Regions from separate parts of the Homo sapiens genome. Here region 2 is linked to region 1. Evidence: promoter capture Hi-C in 16 types of primary human blood cells and fetal thymus (Javierre and others, 2016). All regions are on one chromosome and are shown on one strand. The core of a region is centred on a gene start or on the middle of the fragment in contact, and the rest is flanking DNA. Distances in the headings are between cores, read along the strand shown.

Evidence for each region. Contacts are between HindIII fragments. The CHiCAGO score rates a contact against its expected background, and 5 or more counts as called.
Region 2: a fragment that was not itself captured here is called in contact with the fragment with the promoter of SOX14 in region 1 in 1 of 17 cell types (fetal thymus); the score reaches 6.7 in fetal thymus.

What each region holds. Positions count from the first base shown.
Region 1 is chr3:137,761,842-137,767,562 of GRCh38, forward strand. SOX14 (SRY-box transcription factor 14) reads left to right here and starts at 2,474. Exons shown (of 1, transcript NM_004189.4): 1 at 2,474-4,493. The coding sequence starts at 2,944. The coding sequence ends at 3,666. RefSeq lists promoters at 1,569-2,900, 2,223-2,900, enhancers at 1,698-2,503, 2,504-3,309, 4,360-5,056, 5,334-5,721 and a cis regulatory region at 2,358-2,364. The HindIII fragment of the contact is 2,891 bases long and covers 192-3,082 here.
Region 2 is chr3:137,132,115-137,137,835 of GRCh38, forward strand. No RefSeq gene overlaps it. Among named protein-coding and RNA genes, the nearest start is that of IL20RB-AS1, 150 kb to the left of the region's middle. The HindIII fragment of the contact is 2,548 bases long and covers 1,350-3,897 here.

The DNA.
Region 1 (5,721 bases), core at 1,224-3,723:
TCAAGGCCAAGACGCGCAGCGCTGATGCTGGCCCCTTCCTAGGTCAGTGCAGCTGGACCAGGCAATCGGGGTCTCCGAAACGTCGGGGGGTCAGCTGGCGCCCTGCCCACCATCGAACGCCCTTCGTATCACTCCGCTCCTCATTGCGAATTGGACTGCGCATTGGCTGCGACCCAAGGCTGAACACAAGAAGCTTGGAGAGGAGCTCGGGCGTTTGAGGAGAAGGAAATATGAGGAATTGCAGGAAGGCGCTCGCCTGCCCGAACTGCCTCCGGGCAACTGGAAAGGATTGTCCTGGAAACTGAGAGGAGAGAAAGGACGTAGGACCTTGTGCCAGATCCCCTTGCTGAGTAATTTCCAAGAGCTTGGTTTGCATTAACCCAGAACTTTGGGTGTGCGTTTGGTGTCCCCTGGGGGGTTCTAGAGTGAGAGATTGGCGGGTCCCCTCCGAACGCTGGATCTCGCTGCAGATATCAGTATTTCTCTCATTCCTTCCCAAAGCCGTCGGGATCGCCCAGTAGAATTAGAATTGGGTGATTCCTGAATCTCCTATCCCTGGCTGGCTCTGAATATAGCGCACCGCTGGTCAGACCTGAGTAGGGGTTGCCAGCGACGCTCGGAAACCCTTTCCAGACTGGGCTGAAAAGTGCGTTTGCTTCCTGAGACCCTAAGCTAAATGAAACTTCCTGCAGAGAAAGCAGGGTTACAGGGCTGGATGGAGGCTCTGGAGAAAGGCCAGAGCTGGGGTTGGGAAGGAATGTAAAGGCTGTGCACCTGTTTGCCAGCCCTCGGAGGTGGAGCCCATGGCTAAGCAAATCAAGCGCAGGATCAGTCTTTCCAGCGTGGTTTATCTGCATGGCAGGTGTCGATTGCCCCAATAGTCTCATCAGGTGTTCCACATTGGGCTGCAGAGCCATGAAATCCCTAGGCGTGACGTCTAGTGGAATGGGGGTGAAAATAGGGATTTTCAAATCCTATACATCAAGCATCACTCCCAGAGTCACTTTTGACAAATCACCTAGTTTTTCTCAACCTTAGTTTCCTAATCTGTAAAATGGGGATATTGCCCACCTCTCTGAAAAGTGCGCCAAGGGTGAGAAGTTCCACGCGTCTTTCTAATTTTAGGAAGGGGAAGCAAAGTCTTCTCCTCAAACTTGATACACTACATGCTAGAGAAAGATCCTCCCTTCCGGCCTCCTCATTCCCTGTCACCCTCCCCCACTCCTAGCCCCTCGGAGCCAACGGAGCCTTGCGCGTTTCTGGCCGGTCCTCCCAAGAGAGAATGGTGCAAAAGCCAATAAGCCTGGAACACACGCAGGTCCCGCCGGGCCTGGGACAATGGTTTCCATTTAATAAATATTTCCCCCAAGGGCATTTCACATCGGGCAGGCAATTATTCAAAGGAAACAGGCGCGCAGGTTGGCTCTGCGGGTTATTTCGTCCTCTTTACCCGAAGAATGCTCATTTGACGCAAGAAACGAGTCTCGCAGCCTCCCTGGGTGGGAAGAGGCGCCCAGGGACAAACCGACCCTGGTTGCGATACACCGTGAGACTCCGCTGTAGGGCCGCTGCAGAAGGGGCACCGGGAAGAGCCCCATACCCAGCCTCTAGGCTCTTCTTACGGTATGAACATTTGTGGAGTAAAAGTTGGAGGTTTAAAGACACTAAATAATAATAACATAAATGGGAACTGCAATAGAAATCTCAGCCCCATCCCTGCCCCAAAAGTGAAGAACAGGTCGTAGTGCTTTTAAGGGCTCACCAACTAGGGTTCGAAATCTCTGCATTGCCTGACGCGAGGCCTTCCAGGAGCAGGTCAGACAACATTGCTCAGCCACCCAGGGTCCCAGCGCTACGCCCGGGCGCCGCATCCTGGGGCAGGGGTGGATGCCTAGTTGCAGGGGCTTCCCGGGAGAACACTGCCAAAGCACCGCCGAGGGTGGGGCGCGAAAAGTTTATTTCGCTTTTACCCTGAGCCTGCTATATGTTATTTTTCTCTTCCAAGGATATTTGACAAGAGGGCAAAGTGCTGTCCTTGCATTTCGCGGCAAAGCTGTCCTATTTATCAACACAAGCTCTCGCCTCGCTCCCTTTGCTGTCCCTTCCCCGGCCTTTGTATTTCAAGCCCTAATTCTCTTTCACAACCGGGAAAGGAAACAGGAGACGCGGAAGAGTTTTATTTGTTGACAGTGCCCGAGACAATGTGGAACCGAAGTCCCCAGTCTAGAGCTAGCCTCTCTGCTCTAGCCCTCTCTCTGCCTCTGTCCCTCACACCTCTCCCCGCCCCCACCAGTCGCGCTCTCTGTTTCTTGCACCGGCGTGTTGGCAGGTGCGCCCCCTCGGCTTCTCTGCTGCTGATTGGCGCCCAGGTTGGGGAGTCGCCGCCCCGCGCTTATGTCAGAGTGCGTGCAGTCCCGGCCCACCTCGCCTTTGAACTTCGCCGCTTTTGGCTCTCGTTCACCAGCCTCCCCGCATTCTCAGCCAGGTGCAGCGCTAGGCGCGGCAGCTCCGGGAAAGCCACGGGAAGGGGGAGCCACGACTGGAAACGCAAGAGGAGAGAAGGGAACTAGAGAAGGCAAAGGTGGAGAGGGGGAGAAGGAGGAGCTTCTTGCCCTGGCTAAAAAATTACCTGGCCACTTAATCCCGGAGACTCCGATACTTGGGTCCCAGCCCCTGGTGCCTGAAGCCCCCCGGCCGATCGCCCTCTCCTCCCCCGCCCTTTCTGCCCCCACTCGCTCCCCCGGGGCTGCCTGGGCGCTGGGACTGGCATGATCAGCTGAACTTTGTGGGGTCAGCGCTTCTCTCTGGCTTCCCCTCAGCGGCGCCAAGGCGAGGGGAGCGCAGAACCCCGGCTCAGGACGGACAGACAGACGGCCAGCCGCGCCCAGGCTCGTCTGCAGAACCCTTGCACTCCCTACCCCCACCCACCTAGCCGCCGGGACCATGTCCAAACCTTCAGACCACATCAAGCGGCCCATGAACGCCTTCATGGTATGGTCCCGGGGCCAGCGGCGCAAGATGGCCCAGGAAAACCCCAAGATGCACAACTCGGAGATCAGCAAACGCCTAGGTGCCGAATGGAAGCTTCTGTCCGAGGCAGAGAAGCGGCCATACATCGATGAAGCCAAGCGGCTACGCGCCCAGCACATGAAGGAGCACCCTGACTACAAGTACCGACCTCGGCGCAAGCCCAAGAACCTGCTCAAGAAGGACAGGTATGTCTTCCCCTTGCCCTACCTGGGCGACACGGACCCGCTCAAGGCGGCTGGCCTGCCCGTGGGGGCCTCCGACGGCCTCCTGAGCGCGCCCGAGAAAGCCCGGGCCTTCTTGCCGCCGGCCTCGGCGCCCTACTCCCTGCTGGACCCCGCGCAGTTTAGCTCGAGCGCCATCCAGAAGATGGGCGAAGTGCCCCACACCTTGGCTACCGGCGCTCTGCCCTACGCGTCCACCCTGGGCTACCAGAACGGCGCCTTCGGCAGCCTCAGCTGCCCCAGCCAGCACACGCACACGCACCCGTCCCCCACCAACCCTGGCTACGTGGTGCCCTGTAACTGTACCGCCTGGTCTGCCTCCACCCTGCAGCCCCCCGTCGCCTACATCCTCTTCCCAGGCATGACCAAGACTGGCATAGACCCTTATTCGTCAGCCCACGCTACGGCCATGTAACCCCCAGCCCGGCCCGGACCTGAGGCGTGGTCTGAAAGCCGGGTCTGCACCCTGTCCTCTGAGCCTAGCCCCGGCCTGCAGACGCCTCCGGGGTCAGCCCTGCCGCTGTCCCTTACACCACCCAGACTTTTCCTCTCTCTTCCAGGGGGAAGGGTGGGGCGTCCTCCCGGACCCAAGGCGCAGACAGGTACCGGAAACTTGCAAACGTTATGTCAGCTACACAGCTGCCCCTATCCCGACTCTCCCAAAACAAATCTCCGACTGTACCCCCTTTGGACAAAAAAGTAGGCAGTTTTGCTTTATTTATATCCCCTTCACTCTCCTCGGATAGGCTTTGGACTCTGAACTCCCAGATTCTGATATTATATCTACAATATGCATATATTTTTTCCTTTTGTCCCCTGAAGAAAAGAGTTAGCTGTGTCTCTGTGTTTTGCCATCAGACACAACTAGGAGCCATTTGCTCTTCATGTATGGGGGGGAAAGGCTTCAAAGTTTTAAATTACAGAAAGGGAAACATTTCTATTTAAAACCATGCTATGATAGTGTTTGCTTCTTTAAAGGGAAAACAAAAAGGACCTACATGGTTATTTACTTTGTGTAAAGCAGTGCTTCTAGAGATCTAAGTTTACTTTTAGACAGAATGTCGGGTTATGAAGTCAGGAAGTAGAAGGTGAACAAAAAATTAAAAGAACAAAAACAACCTAAATGGTCATAAATGTTTTGACGATGTCTTGGAAATGTACCTAGAAGGATTTTACCTCGTTGCTCTGTTCATTTGTTGAACAAAGACGTTTTGAATAAAGACAATCTGTCATTGTAAAAAAGTAACCTTTGATGTGCCTAAAATCTGAAGTCAGGAGCCAGGTTGGAGGGACTGGAAAGTCGGGTGCGGGGAGGCTGAAAGTGCATAGAGCGACTTTAAGCAGTGATGGCTGGTGGCTGCCCCCCGTTGGCCCAGCTTGGTGGTCTGCGGGTTGGGTGTAGAAGGGCCTAGAGCTTCGGATCCGTCCGGAATGCGCCCTGGAGATTGCTTTTTGCCTTTAGAGGCTAGACAAAGGTATCGTTCCCTGGGACTTCACTCTCTCCTCCCATTCTTCCCAAAAGGGTCAGGCCACTTCAAGGAATGAATGAACTAAGTCAAAGGCCGACCCAGACCGCTGAGATCTGGGTGAGTTTACTTTTTAAAAAACCAAACGCTGAAGGAGCAGGGAGAAGCACCGAGTCTCCTGGGAACCAGTTGCGCGCTGAACACCCCGTCCTGCATTGGATGTTTAAGTTCAAAGCATGGGAGAAGACTGGGGGAATCAGGTATTCTGCCTTTTTAGGTGTTTGGAAAGGCTGCTGCCCACTCTTCTGGGGATTTGGTGCTTGATACTGGTTCCTAAGTTAAAAAATAAAACTCTAAGAAATGCAGAAAAATGTGCCATAGGTCCCTGCCCCAGAATGTCGAACACTTTTTGCTGAGACCCTGCAGGAGCAAAGGGAAAAGGAAGGCGACATTGTCATGGCTCAGGCAAGGAGTTTTTAAAAATCGTAAAAAATCAAATAAAAGCACAGCCCATGACGTTAAACAAGGAAAAGAGTCCTTTTCTTTCCCCTCCGGGTGAATGTTTTCTTGAAGATTATTGTCTTTCCTGAGAAAGGACCCTCCGATGTTATCCAGCAAAACTCTTTGGAATTTGTTCTCAAAATCGAAGGGTGCTTTCCACCCTTGGTCTTGGAGTCTCACCCCAAAAGCCGCGCTCACGCGTGGTTTTCCTTAATTTGCGTGCTTTTCCCACTGGCTTTGATATGCTGTGGGGTGGGAGGTGGGGCAGCCTAGAGGTTTGTGGGCTTTCTGCTGCTGTTGAGAGATTTGTACGCTTGCCTCCGCTGTTTCCAAAGGAGTCGGTGGCTCGAAGTGCACGGGAAACGTTGTCAACAGACACCAAAGCCGAAACCCGCGGATTAGCATATTGTCCTCAAAACAATTAGAAGTGTTTGAGGTGTTATTTGGAGCCTATTCATCCGAGCCCCTTTGTCAAAGGGGGATTTTCATTATTAAAAAAAAAA
Region 2 (5,721 bases), core at 1,374-3,873, 630 kb before region 1:
TCAAATATATATATGATATATATTTTATAAAATATATATCAAAAGAGCAGGTCCTAAAGGAAGCTGGAAATATAATTCATCACAAATCAGTGGTTCTCAACCCCATCAAACCCAGCAGACTCCCTTTTTCTTTTAGTTCAACCTTTCTATTACCAAAAATTTCAAAAATCCACACCAGTTGACTGAATAGTAAAATGAACCCGATGTAGCCATCATCCAGCTTCAACAATTACTGATACGTGCTACCTTTTGTTTTATCTCTACCTGACCCACTCTACCACCCTGATGATTTCAGGGCAAATCATAGCATTTTATCTGAAAATACTTCTGGATGTAATCTTTTAAAATAAAGTACTCGTTTAGAAAACATAACCTCAATATGATTATTACACTAGAGATAATTAATAATAATTCCTTAATTACCATGTTCATACTTCCCTGAGTAACTTATACATTTTTGACAATTTGTTTGAAACCCCTTTTTATAATGGGTACTTTGCAAAGTCCCCTTTATTATCCTCAGATAAAACCAATAGGTAAATCTGATCTACTATGTAATTTAACGATCAATATAACACCCTAACAGATATAAAGGAAAAACAAAATAAAAGCTACTTAAAACATATGTTTCAACATTTAAGTGCTTAGACACCAACCGCTACAGTAGAGAATATAGTAATGTAGTTCTATGCTTGAACGTGAACATTGAGCCACAGTGAATATCACGGCCTTGAACACAGACTGATCTAGAGGTGTTATGTGGTGATTTAAATATCATAAATGGTATTGCCATTGGTACATACTTTTTCTGAAATGAATAACTCCTGAGAAGGTCTCTAAAAAAGAGGGTTCAACCTTTTCCTGATTTATATTATTGTTGCTGTCCTAGAAAATTCAGTGTATATTTTATGTTTAAAGTGTGCAAAAATTTCTGTGTGTTTATATGTAAAATGGAATTAGGCCCTGAGTGCAAATAATTATAAGTGATTTTTAAACCTATATGACTGTCTGGGAAAAGTACTCAAGTCATGCGGGATGCAGAACAATTCTTTATTGGTGGGACCATCCCAAGCATTGTGAGATGTCTTTTATTCTTGGCTCCTGCTCACTAAGTGCCAGAACTATTTTAGAGTAATAGAGATTGAAGAGACTTGAGAACTAAATTCAATATATGATCCTTAATTGAATCCTGGATGGAACTATAAACCAGCTGTAAGGAATATTACTGGGATAACTGGGGACACTTGAATAATAAATCATATAATAGACAATAGTATTAATGCTAAACTTCTTTACTATTTGGGTAATTATAGTTGGATCTATTCTTGCAACTCTTCCATAAATTTGAAAGCTTTTGAAATAAAATGTTTTGGGGGAAATACCCTCACAAATTTTCAAAATTGCCATGAGGGCCATACCACAAGTGGTGGCATAAGTAACAGATCCAGAGGGCAGGAGGTTGATTTGGGAAAGGGGCAAGAGGATTAGAAATGGAGTGAGGTTTCTTCCTCATGCCCTACCTTGGGCTGGGTACCAGGATGGATACCTAGAAACTCCTTTAAATTTGGGTTTCTGAGAGTAGTAATGACTTGTAACCTACTTACCCTCTGGAATGTAAGAAGTAGCAGTCTTGCTAATATTCCCCAGGGCCACAAAAGCATGGGAGAAGTAGATTGTCACAAGCTGCAGAATGTTGATGGAGAGCATCAGAAAGCCCCCACATCCCCAGGAGACATGCACAAATGGCTGATAAAGGGTGAGGAGCTTAGGTCAGCAGATACTACCAGAGAGCTGAGGGTGGCTATGGCTCAGAGGCTCCCTTAGTGCCTGCTCTCATGTCCTGGACTGGGGTGCTGTTTTTGGAACTTAGCTGTTCCCCTTGCTGAAAACGCAAGTATGGAGCAGGGGTGGAGTGCAGGACAAAAGACACACAAAATTTGACTGAGTTAAACTTAAAATGTCTGAGTAATCACTAGTGTGATTGAATTTACCTGAAAGTGTTTTCTGCTGTCAAATGGAAATGAGAATTCAAGGTAGAAATTGAGTAGAGTTACAGAAAATTAAGCTCCATTTCTTTTGGTAAATGTGATTTTGTGGCTTGTGAAAATTTGAGTCTGCTAAAGTAGTTAGATCAGATGTGTTCATGGAATACAGTATTCAGTATAGCTGAATATATAGAATGTATCAGAAAGATGACAAGAAACTGGACAGACGATTGTGCAAACAGAAATACCATTTTGATAGTGGATGGGAGCTGCTAGGGGAGAAGTTGTATCTGAAATTATGAGTATAGAAAAGCTCCAGAAGTCCTGGGGGGACCTTTTTCCCAGTTCTCTAATCCAGAAGAGATGAGGAAGACAATGTATTCACTTAGTTCAAAAAATATCATTTTAAAAACTGTTTGTATTCCTAAATGAGGCCCTTAGAGAATGCATGGGTCCCCTGTGAAATAAAACCCTTGTGACTTCAGCCCGGCTCCCTTTGTTTAATCAGAGGATGCCATAGTCACAGGCAGGGGCAGATGGCTGAGATCCTATCGCAGCAGCCTCAGGACTTAGGAACCTTAATTTTAAAGGGGGATTAAAGCACAAAAAAACGTTGTTAAAACATCATGCATTTTCATAAGCACCTAGACATGCTCGCTCCCTGCTAGATGTTTATGTGACAGGTCTTTGGAACATAAACTGTGATGGAAGCAAGGGAGCTTTTATGTTGACTCTGTATGGGGGAAAATCAGTATTTGTCTTGCTAAAAGTGCTAGGAGGGGTTCCTCCCTTGTCTCCTTTGTGGTTTCTTGGCTCATGGAATGGAGGAAAAGTCTGGTATCATTCCAGCTTGGTGGATAATGGTGACTGGGAATTGAAGCCTCTCCTAAGACACTGCAGCATACATGAGGGAGCCCTCAGCATGTAGGAGCAGTGAGGCAGTCCATGCCTTCTAAACCAGAACTCTAAAGTTTTATTTCAGTGCATTTTAGACATCAAGCCATTCTGGTGTTATGGTCTTCAGACTGGTGAATGCATCCCCACTGGTGAACCCACAGACTTCCCAGGAGGCGTGAGGGCACACAGATGGTTTAGATCCCCAGATTCCACATGTCTTCTTTCCTAATATTTATCCACCTGGGGACATGCCTGAGGTCTGCAGATTCTTCTTTGCCATCTGCCTTCATACTCTCCCATTAGAAAACAGAGGCATAGACTGGGCGTGGTGGCTCATGCCTGTAATCCCAGCACTTTGGGAGGTTGAGGTGGGCGGATCATCTGAGGTCAGGAGTTTGAGGCCAGCCTGGCCAACATGGTGAAACCCCGTCTCTACTAAAAATACAAAAAATAGCCTGGGTGGTGGTGGGCATCTGTAATCCCAGCTACTTGGGAGGCTGAGGCAGGAGAATCACTTGAACCCAGGAGGCAGAGGTTGCAGTGAGCTGAGATCATGCCATTGCACTCCAGCCTTGGGTGACCAGAGCAACACTCCATCCACCCCCTGCATCAAAAAAACAAAAACCACAAAACAAAACAAAAACAAAAAAACAAAACAAAACCCAAAAAACAGACACACATTTCTCTCCTGACCATGGTGCTTTGCCTTGGGATAGATAAATCCCTAGGGGCAACAAACAAAAGGTGCCATGTTGGAAAATGATTGGGTCACAATTGTTCTCTCTACTCAGTTGGTTTCTGACCCTGCTTTCATCAAAATGGACATGTGTCCCTTGTCCCTGCTCTGCATCCCTGCTCTTTTTACCCAGGGTAGCATTACAGGCATAATTATTATTTCTATCAGAGCTTTAATTATGCATGGATTCAGGATGTGTCTTCTAGTCAATGGGATCTTACAATTCCTTCAGTTGAGTCTCAGTCACAAAGTAGTTTTATTGCATGGCAATTTTAAGAAAGCTTCAACATTAAACTTGTAGAATGGTGTCTGAGGCTTGGAAGAAAATCCCAGAGGCAATAGTGGAGCACTCCCAGGAAATGTCTGTTCATCAATGTTCGTGATGGTATATTGGGTAGAAAACCATGATCATTAATGCCTCAGTTGAAAAGCAATTCAGAAGAGCTGGACTTAGAATATGAAGATGTTTTAGAAATACCATACCAACTTATTTCACTTATATTCCTATTTTTACGAATGTACAAGAATGACATATAACTAGAATCTGTGTCGGAGCGTCCTTGCTGGGCTTCTGGTGGTCACAGCTCTGCTGTTTGCTCCTAGATTCTGTATTTCAAGGTGGGGAAGAAGTGACTGCAGGTACTAGTGATGGAAAAAGAAGGCCGTGGACAAGTTCTGGAACATTAAACAACAAGACTTCTTTAAAAGGGAAAGGAAAGGCTGTGGTGAAGTAAAAATGATGAAGAGGTGTTTTTAGCAAAAACTGGTGACCCTGCTGATTATTTCAAAGTCAGTTATTTTGAACTATTTAAGGTATTAACCTTCTTGCAGACGTGGTGCCCTCACCTACAGAGGCTGAAAGTGTCCAAAGTGAATTACGCAGAAGGCCATTTAGGCTGAGCCTCTTGGCATTCTGAATTGGATGCCATTTTTAAGTTTTATTTTCTCATGGTTGCTGTGTGTGTGTTTATGTTTGCAAAAGCAGTTTAGGCCCTGGAATTGCAAGCTGTTCTGTTAAGGCCCAGGCCGCTTTGCTATCTCCTACCTTTGTTCCTCACTTCATTTTGGAGGATTGTTACACATTTGTAAGTACAATGGGATTATTTATTCATTGTGTCCGTCCACTCTTTTCTGTGCCACAAAAGGAGAAATAGCCTGCACTGCGACTTAAGAGCTTTCTGACCGCTCCAAAGTCATGACATTTCCTTTGCTTTTTGATGGCTGGCTTTGAAAAGCAAGGGGAAGCTGGGTGACAAACTCTGTTGGCTCCAAGAGGGAGATGACTTGTCGTTGTTGTGAAAAAACGTATTTAGTCACTTTTAAAAAGCAAATTGTGGACTTAATAGAGCCACACGGTCTTCTTTGGAGATTGCTACAAGGTGGATTGTCTTGATAAAACATTTGAAGTCAGAAATACATCAAGCGTCAGTGAATATAAGCACTGACCTGAACTCAAGCACACAACATTCTCACCAAGCTTTAGAGTTTTTTTTTTTTTAAATAGAGAGAGGATAACTGTCCAGTACTTTTCACTGTGCTTTCTTCGCAATTCTTCTTCCAGTTCCAAATCAAATGAAAGAGTTGGATGATGAACTATTTTGAGTCTATCTGAGACCGTATGCGTTGGTATCTGTAGGCTCAGCTTTTTGGGTTTCTGCAGAAGCTGTGAATGTGCGCTTGAAGCCAAGCATTTAGCAGGCCCTTTCAAGGCCAAGGGCAAATCTCTACATTAAACAGAACCAACGCCTTCTCAGCATCACCCACTCCCAAGCCCCTTCATGATTGTTATGTTTACTATCACTTTTTAGGTAATATTGACAGAGCAACCCCAAGTCATGTTGATTTCCTCCTGGACACTTAACTGTCTTTGAGGTAGCTGCCACCAGGTGAGAGTAGAGTCTTCAGTCATGGCTGCACTTTGCCAGATGTAGATGAGAATGAGTGAGAGAGAGTCAATTGTTGCTTACATTTTTTTTCTATTAAAGTAATAGCTATATTAAGTATTATTATGAGTAGTTAACTATGTTTTAATTACTAAGCCCTTTCTCAAACCTTTATTTTACAACCTCAGTATTCTGCTGTTGAAAGAAGGTAACACACCCT